4 separate regions of the Homo sapiens genome follow, and all the other regions are linked to region 1. Evidence: promoter capture Hi-C in 16 types of primary human blood cells and fetal thymus (Javierre and others, 2016). All regions are on one chromosome and are shown on one strand. The core of a region is centred on a gene start or on the middle of the fragment in contact, and the rest is flanking DNA. Distances in the headings are between cores, read along the strand shown. Region 1 holds the start of SDHAF3 (succinate dehydrogenase complex assembly factor 3). Region 2 holds the start of TMEM130 (transmembrane protein 130). Region 3 holds the start of BHLHA15 (basic helix-loop-helix family member a15). Region 4 holds the start of TECPR1 (tectonin beta-propeller repeat containing 1).

The links. The method cuts DNA at HindIII sites, captures the fragments that hold promoters and counts their contacts. A CHiCAGO score of 5 or more calls a contact.
Region 2: a contact is called between the fragment with the promoter of TMEM130 here and a fragment that was not itself captured in region 1, in 7 of 17 cell types (activated CD4 T cells, naive B cells, naive CD8 T cells and 4 more). The highest score is 7.9, in activated CD4 T cells.
Region 3: a contact is called between the fragment with the promoter of BHLHA15 here and a fragment that was not itself captured in region 1, in 3 of 17 cell types (total B cells, naive B cells and fetal thymus). The highest score is 9.4, in total B cells.
Region 4: a contact is called between the fragment with the promoter of TECPR1 here and a fragment that was not itself captured in region 1, in 9 of 17 cell types (fetal thymus, naive CD4 T cells, monocytes and 6 more). The highest score is 14.0, in fetal thymus.

What each region holds. Positions count from the first base shown.
Region 1 is chr7:97,116,453-97,119,675 of GRCh38, forward strand. SDHAF3 (succinate dehydrogenase complex assembly factor 3) reads left to right here and starts at 1,246. Exons shown (of 2, transcript NM_020186.3): 1 at 1,246-1,445. The coding sequence starts at 1,272. RefSeq lists enhancers at 904-983, 1,334-1,423. The HindIII fragment of the contact is 1,525 bases long and covers 887-2,411 here.
Region 2 is chr7:98,868,443-98,871,733 of GRCh38, forward strand. It overlaps TMEM130 (transmembrane protein 130), which reads right to left and starts at 1,572. Exons shown (of 8, transcript NM_152913.3): 1 at 1,335-1,572. The coding sequence starts at 1,419. RefSeq lists enhancers at 470-1,056, 1,057-1,642. The HindIII fragment of the contact is 4,583 bases long and covers 1-3,291 here.
Region 3 is chr7:98,209,882-98,212,732 of GRCh38, forward strand. It overlaps BHLHA15 (basic helix-loop-helix family member a15), which reads left to right and starts at 1,558. Exons shown (of 2, transcript NM_177455.4): 1 at 1,558-1,617; 2 at 2,375-2,851. The coding sequence starts at 2,429. RefSeq lists a silencer at 1,430-1,619. The HindIII fragment of the contact is 21,052 bases long and covers 1-2,851 here.
Region 4 is chr7:98,250,413-98,253,548 of GRCh38, forward strand. It overlaps TECPR1 (tectonin beta-propeller repeat containing 1), which reads right to left and starts at 1,820. Exons shown (of 26, transcript NM_015395.3): 1 at 1,714-1,820; 2 at 982-1,136. LOC124901706 (a long non-coding RNA gene) reads left to right here and starts at 1,947. Exons shown (of 2, transcript XR_007060448.1): 1 at 1,947-2,116; 2 at 2,472-3,136. RefSeq lists an enhancer at 1,467-2,210 and silencers at 1,527-1,916, 2,007-2,106. The HindIII fragment of the contact is 5,193 bases long and covers 1-2,250 here.

The sequences.
Region 1 (3,223 bases), core at 399-2,898:
GTGGGCAGGCAGTATTTATAGACAGAAAAAGGAAGTGCCCCACAGAAACAGCTTGATTGCTTACAGTTGGGCTAGTCTTATTTGGGCAGGACATTATGACGTATTTGCCTTATATGCACATAGTCTGATCAGTTGGCAGCCTGTGATTGGCTGAAGCTCAGCTACTTGTCACAAGAATATACTCTCAGTTGCAGTTAATTTACATACTAAGTTAGGTTGCAGTTCCCTACATAGCAACTCAGAGTAGGGAGGAAATTTTAGGCCAAATTTAATTTAAATTATGTTGGAGCATGACCAAAGTTGGTCATGACCAGAAGCTGAACACAGATATGGAAGCTAACACAATATCCAGTGGAGAGAGATTGTGGTAGAGTACATGGGGCGAAATGGTTGATTTCTGCATTTTTGTTGGTGACGCCATCAGGATTTGCTGAAGAACCAAACGTGTGACAGGAAAGGACAACACAAGGAGCTGCCAGCTTTGGAAACCAGTTCTACTCTCAGTATTACCTTCGCAAAAGATAGAGCTTTGTAAATTTCTAGATTCCTCGTTCTTATTATCCTAGACTATTTAACCAGAATCTCCAGGGTCGTGGTCCTGGAAACAATACGTTTAAAACTCTTCCCAAGGATCCTTCAGCAGCCAACTTGACTTTGGCTAAGGAGTCCGCCAGCTCTGGGCTCACTTGGGTTGTTTGCAAGGAAGAGCCCATGCCCAGAGTATAAATTGGGAGAACAGCGCTGTGCAAAGAGCGTGGGTTGGTGAGCTAGTGGATGGCGAGATTAATCTCACTCTGATCCCTAAAGCAGGGTGCAGTAATACTCTAAATGCCTCAAATGGGTTGGGAACCATGGAAGGAATCCCGGAGGAGCCCGATCTTAACGAAGCTTTTCTCAGGCCTTTGGTAGGAGGACAGAAACGAAGTTGAATGAAAAAGACAGTGGAGTGGGACTGAGAAATGACAACGGCCCACCACAGACCTCTCTCTTTCAAGGCCTGTGTCGTCAGGACGCAGGCCAGAAGAAGCCACGACGAGGCGCAGGCGCGACTCCACGAGGGCCACGCCCCTCCTAGAGAAGGACCGACCCGTTTTCCGCCCGCAGCGGAGCTTGGGTTTCCGGGAGGACCTGATTGTGCAAGGGACCAAACCGGATAGAGGTCGCGCGCCCTCTTTCGTCTGCCTTCCGGTTCACTAATACGCAAGTTCGCAGAAGTGCGGGAACGCGCCGTCCCTCTGCGCAGGCGCAGTCGGCGGTCGGCGTGGGGCGCTATGCCGGGGCGGCACGTTTCTCGAGTCCGGGCATTGTACAAGCGCGTCTTGCAGCTGCACCGTGTTCTGCCCCCGGACCTCAAATCCCTGGGCGACCAGTACGTGAAAGACGAATTTAGGAGACATAAGACCGTTGGTTCTGACGAGGCACAGCGTTTCTTGCAAGAATGGGAGGCAAGTGACGCTCCCTTCTCTTTGCCCAAGACCTTTGGGGTTCCTCGGTGTCCAGGTTTCTAGTTCCAGTCCCCCATGCGGGGTTAAACAGAGCAGCAACCTGTTCTGTTTGAAATAGCGTAATGCTGTTCAGGTAACACTTTCCAAAGTTTCTCCCACGGGTTTCTCACTAGAGCAGATCCTGTTACTTCAGCGTCCCCAATTCAGTTCAACTTTTGAGCTCCTGCAGATGCCAGGTGCTCAAAGGGTGAGGGTAGGAGGTCACAAAAATGAGCAAGTCGTCGTTAAGTGCTCAAAAACCTCAGGAGCTTTTTGTCCTTTTAAGTGCCTTTGCACCTAGTAAGCGCCCATTAATAAATTAATGGTTCTCTTATTAGTTTTCAAATTTAAAGGCTTATTTCCGTAATTTATTATTTAATCTCAGCGCTTTTGGTTGGGTTTAAATAATTTTCTCACTTGGCTGATACAGAAATCAGGTAACATGAAAAAGATTACAAAAGGTTGGAGATTACAAACTGTGAAGGAGAAAAATGCTGGTGGCAGTTAAGTCAGGCGAAAGTTGTTTCCTCCGGTCTCAAGTCATTGTTACTTCGCCCTGCACCATTGCGCTAAATATTAAACAGACACATGCATTAGCAATAAGTCGTTTGACTTTTTTTTTTTTTTTTTGAGTAAAGGAAAAAAGATATTCAGAGTATTTCGTGGGGCTCGGGGCCCTGCAGGATTGCCCCTAGTTTTCATTTGCAAATATAAATAAATGAATGGAATTAGAGATTGGAATGACAGCTCAGATATTTGAAAGCATGAGTTGGAGCTGATATGAAAATAGAGGTAAGCGGTTCTTCGGCCTAAATAGTTGAAGGGGAGATGACTGAAGTCGGCTTTGTAAAAAAAAATCAAAAGAATGGTTAGGGTGAACACAAACTTTGCACTGACTTCCAGAATTCTTTTTTGTATAATTATTGAAGCTTTTAAGAGCGACATTTAGAACAATCGGGAAATTTAGAACTTTCTTGAAAATCATGGTGTATTTGATGTAATTCGCTTGCCTGAAGCAGGGAAGTTGAAGCTTTTCAGACACAGAGCACTTTATTTTAATAAGGTAATTTGGTTTTGGAGCCTGAAGAACTGGATTCAGATTCAGTCTCTGACATTTTAAGTGTCAGATCACATAATTTTTCTAGTCTTATTTTCTCATCTATAAAATAATAAGTGTTTATGCATCTCAAAATTTACGTATGTAAATGTATTTACAAGCACTTGTGTATTGCTAATTGTTATGAAGCTATAAGATACTGTATTAAAGTATTTTACATCTTTTATGGTAGGTCATTTTGTGGCCGTACAGGAAGGAGAGTAGCTCTCTGTTGGGAGGAAATAAGGTTATTTTAAGAAGTCTTAAAATGTAAGCACATGGAAGCCTCTTTGGGAAAAAGTAGGAAAGAGTAGCAACTCAGAAAAAATTGATAATAGGTTGTAGGAGAGAGAGAGGGTATAAAAAAGAACTGCATAAATAAAAAATGTGTTAGTTGACCTAGTAGGCTTGGTAACTGGGATTGAGCTTTTTAAAACTTGGAATAATTTTAGACATACAGAAGAGTTAGAAAGACAGTAGAGAGTTCCCTACATCCTGTTTCCCCCTGTGTTAGCATCTTACATAATCAGGGTACAGTGATCAAAAACAAGAAATTAACATTGCTACAATGCTGTTAACTACAGACTTTATTTACAATTTGCCAGCCCTTTCACTAATGTCCTTATTCTGTTCCAGGATCCAA
Region 2 (3,291 bases), core at 322-2,821, 1.8 Mb after region 1:
AACATTCTAGAAAATGGCTACACCAGTCCTTTCACACAGAATATGCAGACTACCCAAAACACTTCCAAAGAGTACCTCTAAAGTCTGGATAACACAACCCAGAATTAATTAATAGTCCAGTACATGGACTTCTGACTTACAAATCCCTGATTCATGGACTCCAGAAAGGGGAAGGGTAGAAAAGTCTCCCCGACGGGTGAGGGAGAAGATGTTTCCCAACTCCACTCTTAGCCACTGTGATTTTGACCACATCAAGGGTGCAATTGGCTAGAATGGGAACCACACATGATTTCCAAATAATTAATTCACTTTTGTTATTATTTTCTTTTTCTTTTGCAATTTAGGACACATTGAAAATCTCTGACACAAATCAACCTGATGGACAAGAGACCCCTTTCCTGTATTTCCAGGAGGAAATAGGTAATCTTGTCCAAGTGCAATTCCCATAAAATTCGTCTAATTCATCCCTGAGTTGCAGGTTTTCTTTGACCTCATGGTTTTTCTTTCACAAATTTTCATTAGATCCCTTGCTCTCTCTCTCCACCGCTCTTTTATGAGGGGGGAGGGGGTGAAAAGTGGTGGATAGTATTCAACCTTCTTAGCTGCCCACGTCCCATCTGTCCCTCGAATAGTCTTAAATCTGGGTCCTTTTATGGTTCCCAAAATGTGGCAGAGAGGTGGGTGCTGGCTTTCTGGCGGTGGGGAAGTGGGGGCAGTAGACACACAACCCTGCTTCCCCCACTCCCCCACCCACACACACACCCCAGGAACCTGTCAGCTCCGGGTCCATTTTGGAAATCACCACCAGAGAGGAAATGGCAGCCTGGCCTCCTGGGCTCTAAATTCGCATCTCCCCAAAGCCAGCACCAACACGGTGGGAAACCCCTCTAGATGAGGCGACATTTTAAGGCAAAAACGTTGCCCATCCCGTGCTCCCTGGGGGACTGGGGAATTGTGGCGCGATGACGGACCCTGGCGCATCCCCGCCTCCCTGCCTCGTCCTCCCCTCCCTTAGCGGGTGCATGGTCCCCAGGCATCGACGGATGCGCCGGCCACCCCCGCGCGGTTTCCAGGGCAGGGCCAGCCTGGGGGGGTGGAAGCAGGAATCCAGGGGGTGCGGGGAGCCCCCTCCAGTGCCCAGGCGACTTTGGGGAACAAGGATGAAAGGAGAGGGGAAAGGGCGCTGCAGTGGCCTCAGCCGAGGAGGGAGATGCGCGCAGGGCGCACGGTGCCACCTCCGCAATCCCTGCTCCCGGGCCCACTCGCCCGCTGAGACGGTTCCAGGCCCCGGGCGGGCTGCGGCTGCAGGGAGGCCGGATTGCCCAGCGCCTTACCTGCGGCCACCCCTGCCGGGGCCCAGGGCAGGAGGCAGGCAAGCCAGAGGATGCGGCCGAGGCGCGACCACACTGCCTGGGCCATTGCGGGGCCCGGAGCGGGAGAAGCGTGGGGCGGACGCGGAGGGAATGCAGCTGGAGCTCGAGAACTGCGGCGGTCGCTCCTCCGGGCGCGCAGCGCGGGCGGTGCGGGGAGGTGCGGGCGCCGTGCTCGCTCGTCCTCGCCGGGGGACGCTCTGTCGCTGCGCGCCGCCGCCGCCGCCCACAGCCCGCTGCGCGACCCCGGCCCACGTCAGCCGCGCCGCGCGCCCTCCTCCTCCTCCCGCCGCCCCTTGCTCCCGCGTCCCTCTCCACGGCCGCGTCCTCCCTCTCCGGGTCTCTTCCCACGGCCGCGCCCCCTGCCCTCCTGGAGTCCACGATCGCCCCTCCCAGCTTGCTTCCCCTCTAGGGGTTCCAGAGCTCCCTTCCTGCGCCCTGGCTCCTCCCCGCATCCCTCCCCACCCCAAATCCACCCCCGGCCGCATCCTTCCCCTCCACTACCCGAAACCACGCCCCCCGCACCCGCATTTTTCCCTTCCCCCGAGCCCCTCCCCGCCCTGGATCCGATGCCGCCGGCTCTGACTCAGCGTCCCCAGGGGCGTGCGCTGCGCTGCAAGCCGCCTGCAGGTCCCTTGGGGCTCTCCTCCAGGTGCCTTCTCTCTGCACGCTCGTGGCTCCGAGATGCTACTCCTCATTCAAGAACTGTTGAGAGCTTAAGGTGCGCCAGGCGTTGGGCGAAAGGCCTCGAAATTCCTCTTGCTGCTGCTGCTGCTGCTGCTTCCTCTTTTCTTTTTTTTTTTTTTTTAATCTTGAGACAGAGTCTCGCTCTGTCCCAGAATGGCGCGATCTCGGCTCACTGCAACCTCCGCCTCCCGGGTTCAAGCGATTCTCCTGCCTCAGCCTCCCTAGTAAGATGGGATTACAGGTGCCCGCCACCAGGCCTGGCTAATTTTTGTATTTTTAGTAGAGACGGGGTTTCACCATGTTGGCCAGGTTGGTCTCAAACTCCTGGCCTCAAGTGATCCTCTCGCCTCAGCCTCCCAAAATGTTGGGATTACAGGTGTAAGCCACTGTGCCCAGCCTCTTGCCCCTTCTTGATAGAGGGGCCTGAGCACCCGGCCCCTGCCGTGGGCTTGATGTCATCCCCCGGTTTACCCTCTCACAGCTGCTGTTAAGATGGGGCTCCTGCTCGTATCTGGGCCCAGGGCAACTTCTTTGTCACTGAGGGCCTTGTGGGAGTCAGGCTACTGCGGTGAGGGGTGACCAGCCTACACAGTTACTGCCATTTGCCTTAGAGGAGCAGGGCTGGGCTCTCCTAGAAGCTGGAGGGGCCTGGCTGGCCTTAAACGCTGGAAGCCCGGTGGGTTCTGGTCCCAGCTATGCTTCCGCTTTGCTACGGCTACCTGGGCGAGGGATCCTCCCACACAGTGAGGGCCTTTGACCTCCTCTCTGGCCCGTGGAGCACGGATGGACCATCACTGCACCACCCAGTGCATTGACATCAAGGCGTCTAAAGCAGGGGTCTCCAAGCCCCTGGCCGCCAGTACCAGTCCATAGCCTGTTAGGAACTGGCTGCACAGCAGGAGGTGAGCAGGGCCTGTGAGCCACGCTGAGCTCCACCTCCTGGCAGATCAGCAGGGCATTAGATTCTCATAGGAGCGCAAACCCTACTGTGAACTGCTCACGTGAGGGATCAAGGTTGCGTGCTCCTTATGAGAATCTAATGCCTGATGTTCTGTCACTGTTTCCCATCATCCCCAGATGGGACCATCTAGTTGCAAGAAAGCAAGCTCAGGGCTCCCACTGATTCTACATGATGGTGAGTATGTAATCATAATAGAAATAAAGTATACAATAAAAGTAATGCGCTTGAATCATCCCGAAACCATCCCTCCAACCCCTCATTCGTGGAAACATT
Region 3 (2,851 bases), core at 308-2,807, 1.1 Mb after region 1:
TGCACTCATGAATTTCGGAAGCATTTTCATTTCCAAGGACCTCATTTGGCCCAGCCTCAAATGAGCTTTAGGCCAAGAGAAGAACTAACTAACCTTGGCTCCAAGCTAGCCTTTCTGTGCCCGCCCCCCGCCCCACTATGGCCCCTCTGAGTTCCCACCCAGAGGTACTGAGACAGAGCGGCGAGACCCATGAGTGTGGAGCCCAGGCCTGCCAGCCAGCGTGACACTCACCGCACCCCCAGCAGCGTGCAGTCACCGCACCCCTAGCAGCCCCGAATAGTCCCTGAGCAAGATGCTGCTTTGGCTGGGCGTGGTGGCTCACGCATGTAATCCCAGCACTTTGGGATGCCGAGGCGGGTGGATCACTTGAGGTCAGGAGTTGAAGACCAGCCTGGCCAACGTGGAGAAACCCCGTCTCTACTAAAAATACAAAAATTAGCTGGGCGTGGTGGTGCATGCCTGTAATCCCAGCTACTCGGGAGGCTGAGGCAGGAGAATCGCTTGAACCCGGGAGGCGGAGGTTGCGGTGAGCCGAGATCATCTCGCTCCATTGCACGCCAGCCTGGGCAGCAAGAGCGAAACTCCGTCTCAAAAACAAACAAACAAACAAAACAGGCGTTCCCAAGGACTGCACACCTGCCCAAGGAGCCCCCCACCCCCACCCCAACTCGGGCTCCGCCCCCAGCCCGTAGGAGCCCCAGGTTCCCCTAAACATCCCGGGCGGCGGGGCGGGGGATCCCCTGGGAGATGCCCGCGTTTTCGCGGAGCGGCTCGTCCCGGAGTGCTCCTGGGACTTGGGATCTGTGTGCTGAGCCTGAATCGGGGCTGCCCCTCCTTCCGGCGGCTCCCAGAGACCTGTTTCCCATTGGCGGAATGGGCCCGGGCCCCGCCACGAGTGGAGAGGCCGGGCAAGGAGGATCGCGGGAGGCATGGATGCGGGGGTGCTGTGTCAGGGGGAGGGTCGGGGAAAGCGGGCGGGGGGAGGCTGTCTCGGGCACGGATATGGGGTAGGCGGGTGGGAAAGGCGCGAGTGGAAATTGAGGGGGAGGATGGGGAAAAGCAGGTTGTGGGGAGGCTGTCGGGGGACGGGAGTAGGGGAGGTGGGGACGCAGGCTGTCTTGGGGGGGCTGTAGCGGGAGAATGGGGAGAGACGAATGGGGGGAAGCTATCTCGGGGCGGTTGGGGGGCTGTCGGGGGAGGATGGGGAGAAGCGTGTGGGGGAGGCTGTCTGGGGGAACGAGGGTCGGGGGCTGTCGGGGGATGGTGGGGAGAGGCGGGCGGGGGTGGCTGTCTTGGGGGACGAGGGTGGGGGGCAGTAGGGGGAGGATGGGGAGAGGCGGGCGGGGGAGGTTTTCTATCTTGGGGGCGGGGCGGAAGCTGGGGGCGGGGCTGCGCGGCCACCTGGTCCGGGAGCCCCAGGCGCCGGCCTCCCGCCCGCCCGCCCGCAGGTGCCGCCACTGCTGCCCAGCGCCCGCCGGGACACCCGGACCCCGGCCCCGCCCCGGCCCCGCCCCGAGGGCTCATTTGCATGCGTCCGCGGCCCCTCCCGGGGCGGCTAAAGCGACGTGTCCTTGTCCCCCGTGGGCAGCCTCGGCGCGTGTGGCCGCGGATCCCCAGGTAACCCGGGAGCTGGGAACTCGGGTGGGGCCGCGGGGAGGGGACCCAGGGGCAGGACCTGGCGGTGGGGTTGTGGGGGTTGTGGGGGCTGTGGGGAAACCCGGGTGGGGGACTTCTGGTCTGTCTGGAGGCTCCACGGGGCCCATCCACGTGGTGGGATTGGGGGCTGCCGCCAGGCCCTGGCCATTGCCGACCTCTGACCTCCACGGCTGCCCCATGTCCGCAGCGGTTCTGGCCCCAGTGCTGTCCCATGTCCGCAGCGGTTCTGGCCCCAGTGCTGTCCCTGCACGTGTCACGTCCAGCGGGGCAGGACAGTGAGAGCCTGGTGGCTGGAGTCACTGCCCGCCCACGGGATGAAGTCAGTGCCGCCTCCGGCAGAGGCGCCCCCTAAGCTAGGGTGGGGGACGCATTCTAGGCAAAGTGTCAAAGGTCACCGAGCTCAGGAGGCACTCTGGGGGCAGTGAGGGGCATGAGCCAGAGGAAGATCTAGGGGTCAGGATGAGTCATCCTGGGGGAAGGGGGACGCAGGGACAGGGACAGATTCCAGAGGTCTGTTTGAGGTAAAGCAAGGGCGTGGGTGTGTGTGGGGTCAGCCCAGGGCTAAGCGTGTGAACAGAAGGACCTCCAGTCGCAGAGCGCCAACCCCTGCCCCTGGTACCATTGCTGTCAGCAAGGAGGAGGCTGCCAGGGACGGCACCCCAGCGGGTCCCCTGCCCATGTGGGGTGACCACAGAGTGTCCTGTGTTCTGGATTTCAGCTCCAAGGGCCTCACCTTCCTGCCGCCACCTCCTAGGACAGCCAGTCCAGGGCCATGAAGACCAAGAACCGGCCCCCACGGCGCCGGGCCCCGGTGCAGGACACAGAGGCCACCCCCGGGGAGGGGACGCCCGACGGGTCCCTGCCGAACCCGGGGCCAGAGCCGGCCAAGGGTCTGCGGAGCCGGCCGGCCCGGGCCGCAGCAAGGGCTCCGGGCGAGGGCAGGCGCAGGCGGCCAGGACCCTCCGGGCCCGGTGGCCGTCGTGACAGCAGCATCCAGCGGCGGCTGGAGAGCAACGAGAGGGAGCGGCAGCGGATGCACAAGCTAAATAACGCCTTCCAGGCCCTGCGTGAAGTCATCCCCCACGTGCGCGCGGACAAGAAGCTCTCCAAGATCGAGACGCTCACGCTGGCCAAGAACTACATCAAATCGCTGACGGCCACCATCCTGACCATGTCCAGCAGCCGCCTCCCAGGC
Region 4 (3,136 bases), core at 570-3,069, 1.1 Mb after region 1:
AGCCGAGGAGTTCAAAACCAGCCTAAGCAACACAGGGAGACCCCATCTCTGTAAAAATAAAAAGTTAAAAAAAAAATTAGCCAGGTGTGGTGGCACATGCCTGTGATCCTAGCTACTTGGGAGGCTGAGGCAGGAGGATCACTTGAGCCCAGGAGTTTGAGGCTACAGTGAGCTATGATTGTGCCACTGCACTCCAGCCTGGGCAGCAGAGCGAGACCCTGTCTCAAAAAGGAAAACAAACAACAACAACAACAACAACAAAACAAAGATAGCTCAGAATTCACTGGATAAGCAAGCAGTTTAGCTAGACTCAGTCTGCAGGTTGAGCTCAATGAAAGGAGATTTTGACTTTCCTTCAAATAAATGACTAAGCACTAATTTCCTCATAGACATCATTGAATCTTCTGGGCAGTTAATGGGAGAAGACTCTGCTACAGTGAAAGGGAGGGGTGGGGGGTTGCTGTATTTACAAACTCCCTTCAGAGTAGAGACCCAGGCACCTGTCGTCACTTCCTAGCTACAGTTGACATCCGGTAACCATCCTTGGTCAGCCACACTTTCTTTCTGCCTCTGCCAAGAGGCTCCCCCTAGCTCCTCATGGGCCACTTTCTGGCTGTGAGCTGATCAGGCAACTTACACAGGGTCACTGGGTCAGAGGACTCTTGAAAGGGGGGTTGGAACATGAAGCCCCATGATTCAGGGATCCTGGGACTTGTTTGTTTTGTAGGGTTAGAGGGATGGAGGAAAATCTTCCAAATCAGCAGCCTCGAATTCACCAAGAATTTCTACAAGATGAATTTGAGTTGAACCTTCAGTCTTTCCACGAAGAAGGTCTGCTCGCCACCCTCAAAGCCATCTGCCTTTCTGTCTCAGTTTATTCACAGATCCTTTCAGAGACCAAAAAAAGCACCCAAGAGAGGCGGGGACAGAGATGTGGTAGAGGAAAAGACACAGTACAAAGAACGCTCCGCAAGCACTTACTTCCTCTGAGCCTTAGGAGTCCTACCTAAAAGGTTTCTTGCTTGTTTTTCTATTACACTGTCACTCCCATCCGGTATGCAAACAGTCGGCAATGCCTACTACAGTAGCTCGCTGGCTGCCAGGTGCAGGGGCTGTTCAAAAGCGACATCAGGGTCCTAAAAGGTGGGAAAAAGCAGCAGAACTTGCATGGTAGTTGATTCTTTCCTGAAGAATAGGGTCCGCCCAGCCCCACCGGGCAGGAGGTGTCCTGAGTCAGCCTGGCGTTCAGCCCAGTGCTGTGCACTTGGGTGACAGGTGGGGCCCCTGCACTGCCACCAGTAGCATATGTCGGAGCTCTGGGCCCTGACCATCTGCCAAAGCTAATCTTACGACAAGCAGATTTGCTCCCATCAATACCCAGGGAGAGGGATAGGCAGGCCCCTTGCTGCGTGATTCTCGAAAACAACCAGGATCCCGCGATCCGCTTCTCCTATGGCTCCAGTCCAAAGGCTGGAATGGGGGCGTCACCTGCACCAGGCAACTTCGCTAGCCTGTGGGCGTTCCAGGGCAGGGGACGGGGGCGGCACCTTCCAGGTGTGCAGGCGAGATGACAAGTGCGGTCCCTCCTTCCTCCCTCCCCGCGAGCAAACAGCCTGGGGGTGGTGGGGAAGGCGGCGTGCCCAGCCCTTCATCGCCCCATTCTTTCCCACGGCCCTGGCCGCCGCTGCAGCTGGGGCGCCACTCTGCACTCACCTGGGCCCGCGCCGGGCGGGGCGAAGTCGCGGTGGTAGGTCCTCGGCGTCCGGGAGGAGCGGACCGGCCCTCCCGGGGACCGGGCAAGAGGGTGGGCCGGAAGCGGCATCAGGCCCCGTGCCCATTGGCCAGCCTCGCCAGGACGCTGCGACCTGGGACGTGCGATTGGCTGCGGTGCGCCGCGTCGGTGCTGGCTTCGAGGTCGCGCGCCCGCCCACTTCCGGGGTCGCGCCAGGTCAGGAGTCCAGAGTCGGCTGAAGCGAGTTGCCGCGTTCTCTCTGGCGGCGCGACACCGGCCCGTGGACCGCCCGGCCGCCCTCCAGGACCCGGTCTGCAGGAGCGGAGAGGGCGGTGTGGACACCGCCTGCAGGCGAGGAGAAGGGGTGGCGGAGAGGGTACCTGGGTGCGTGGCTGTGCGGCGTCAGGAGGAGCAGGGTGTGGGCGCCCGGCCTGGGGCGTGGAGAGGACGCAGGGAACAGGTGTCTTCCTGGTATCCATCGAACTGAAACGTAGCCCTTGAGCACACACTACACTTAAAGCTTTACTCTTTCGAGGAGGAGTCCTGGAAGCATATGTGATTTTGTGACTATAGCATGGTGTGGTGTCAGTAACAGGCCCTGGATTGCTCAAACTCTATTGTCAGTGACAAAACCCAGTGTAAGCTGGCCTAATATATTAATAGTAATATGCGAGTCCTCCCGGGGTGGCGGGCACTGACGTAAGTGCTTTACTTGGGTCTTCTCATTTCATCCTCCCAGCAACCCAAAGAGCTGGCGGCGTCATTCCCATTTTACAAATGCGAACACGGGCTCAGAGATGGAGCGACTCACGTTGTAAGCGATGGAACTGGGATTTGAAAACACTGTATCCCGCCTGGCAGAAAACTGGCAAGGTTAGGATGGAGAAAGGAGAAAAAAGAAAGATGTCGGCCAGGTGCGGCGGTTCATACCTGTAATCCCAGCACTTTGGGAGGCCAAGGCGGGCGGATCACTTGAGGTCAGGGGTTTGAGACCAGCCTGGCCAAGATGGTGAAACCCCGTCTCTAGTAAAAATGCAAAATTAGCCAGGGGTGGTGGCGCATGCCTGTAATCTCAGCTACTCGGGAGACTGAGGCAGGAAAATCGCTTGAACTGGGGAGGTGGAGGTTGCAGTGAGCTGAGATCGTGCCACTGTGCCACCGCACTACAGCCTGGGCGACAAGAGCAAAACTCCTTCTCAAAAAAGAAAAAAAAGGGCATCTGATGGAAGGCTAGATACTACCCGACATTGAGCTAAACCAATGTCACCTGGTTGGACCTAGGGACCTATTCCTGCTCCCCCTCTAGTTCTGTCTCATTTCTGGGGTTGCACACAGGCTTTTCCTGGGCCTTCATGTTTGGGGAAGCCCCACACAGGCCAGCTCCAGTGGAAGAAAACGCCCCCA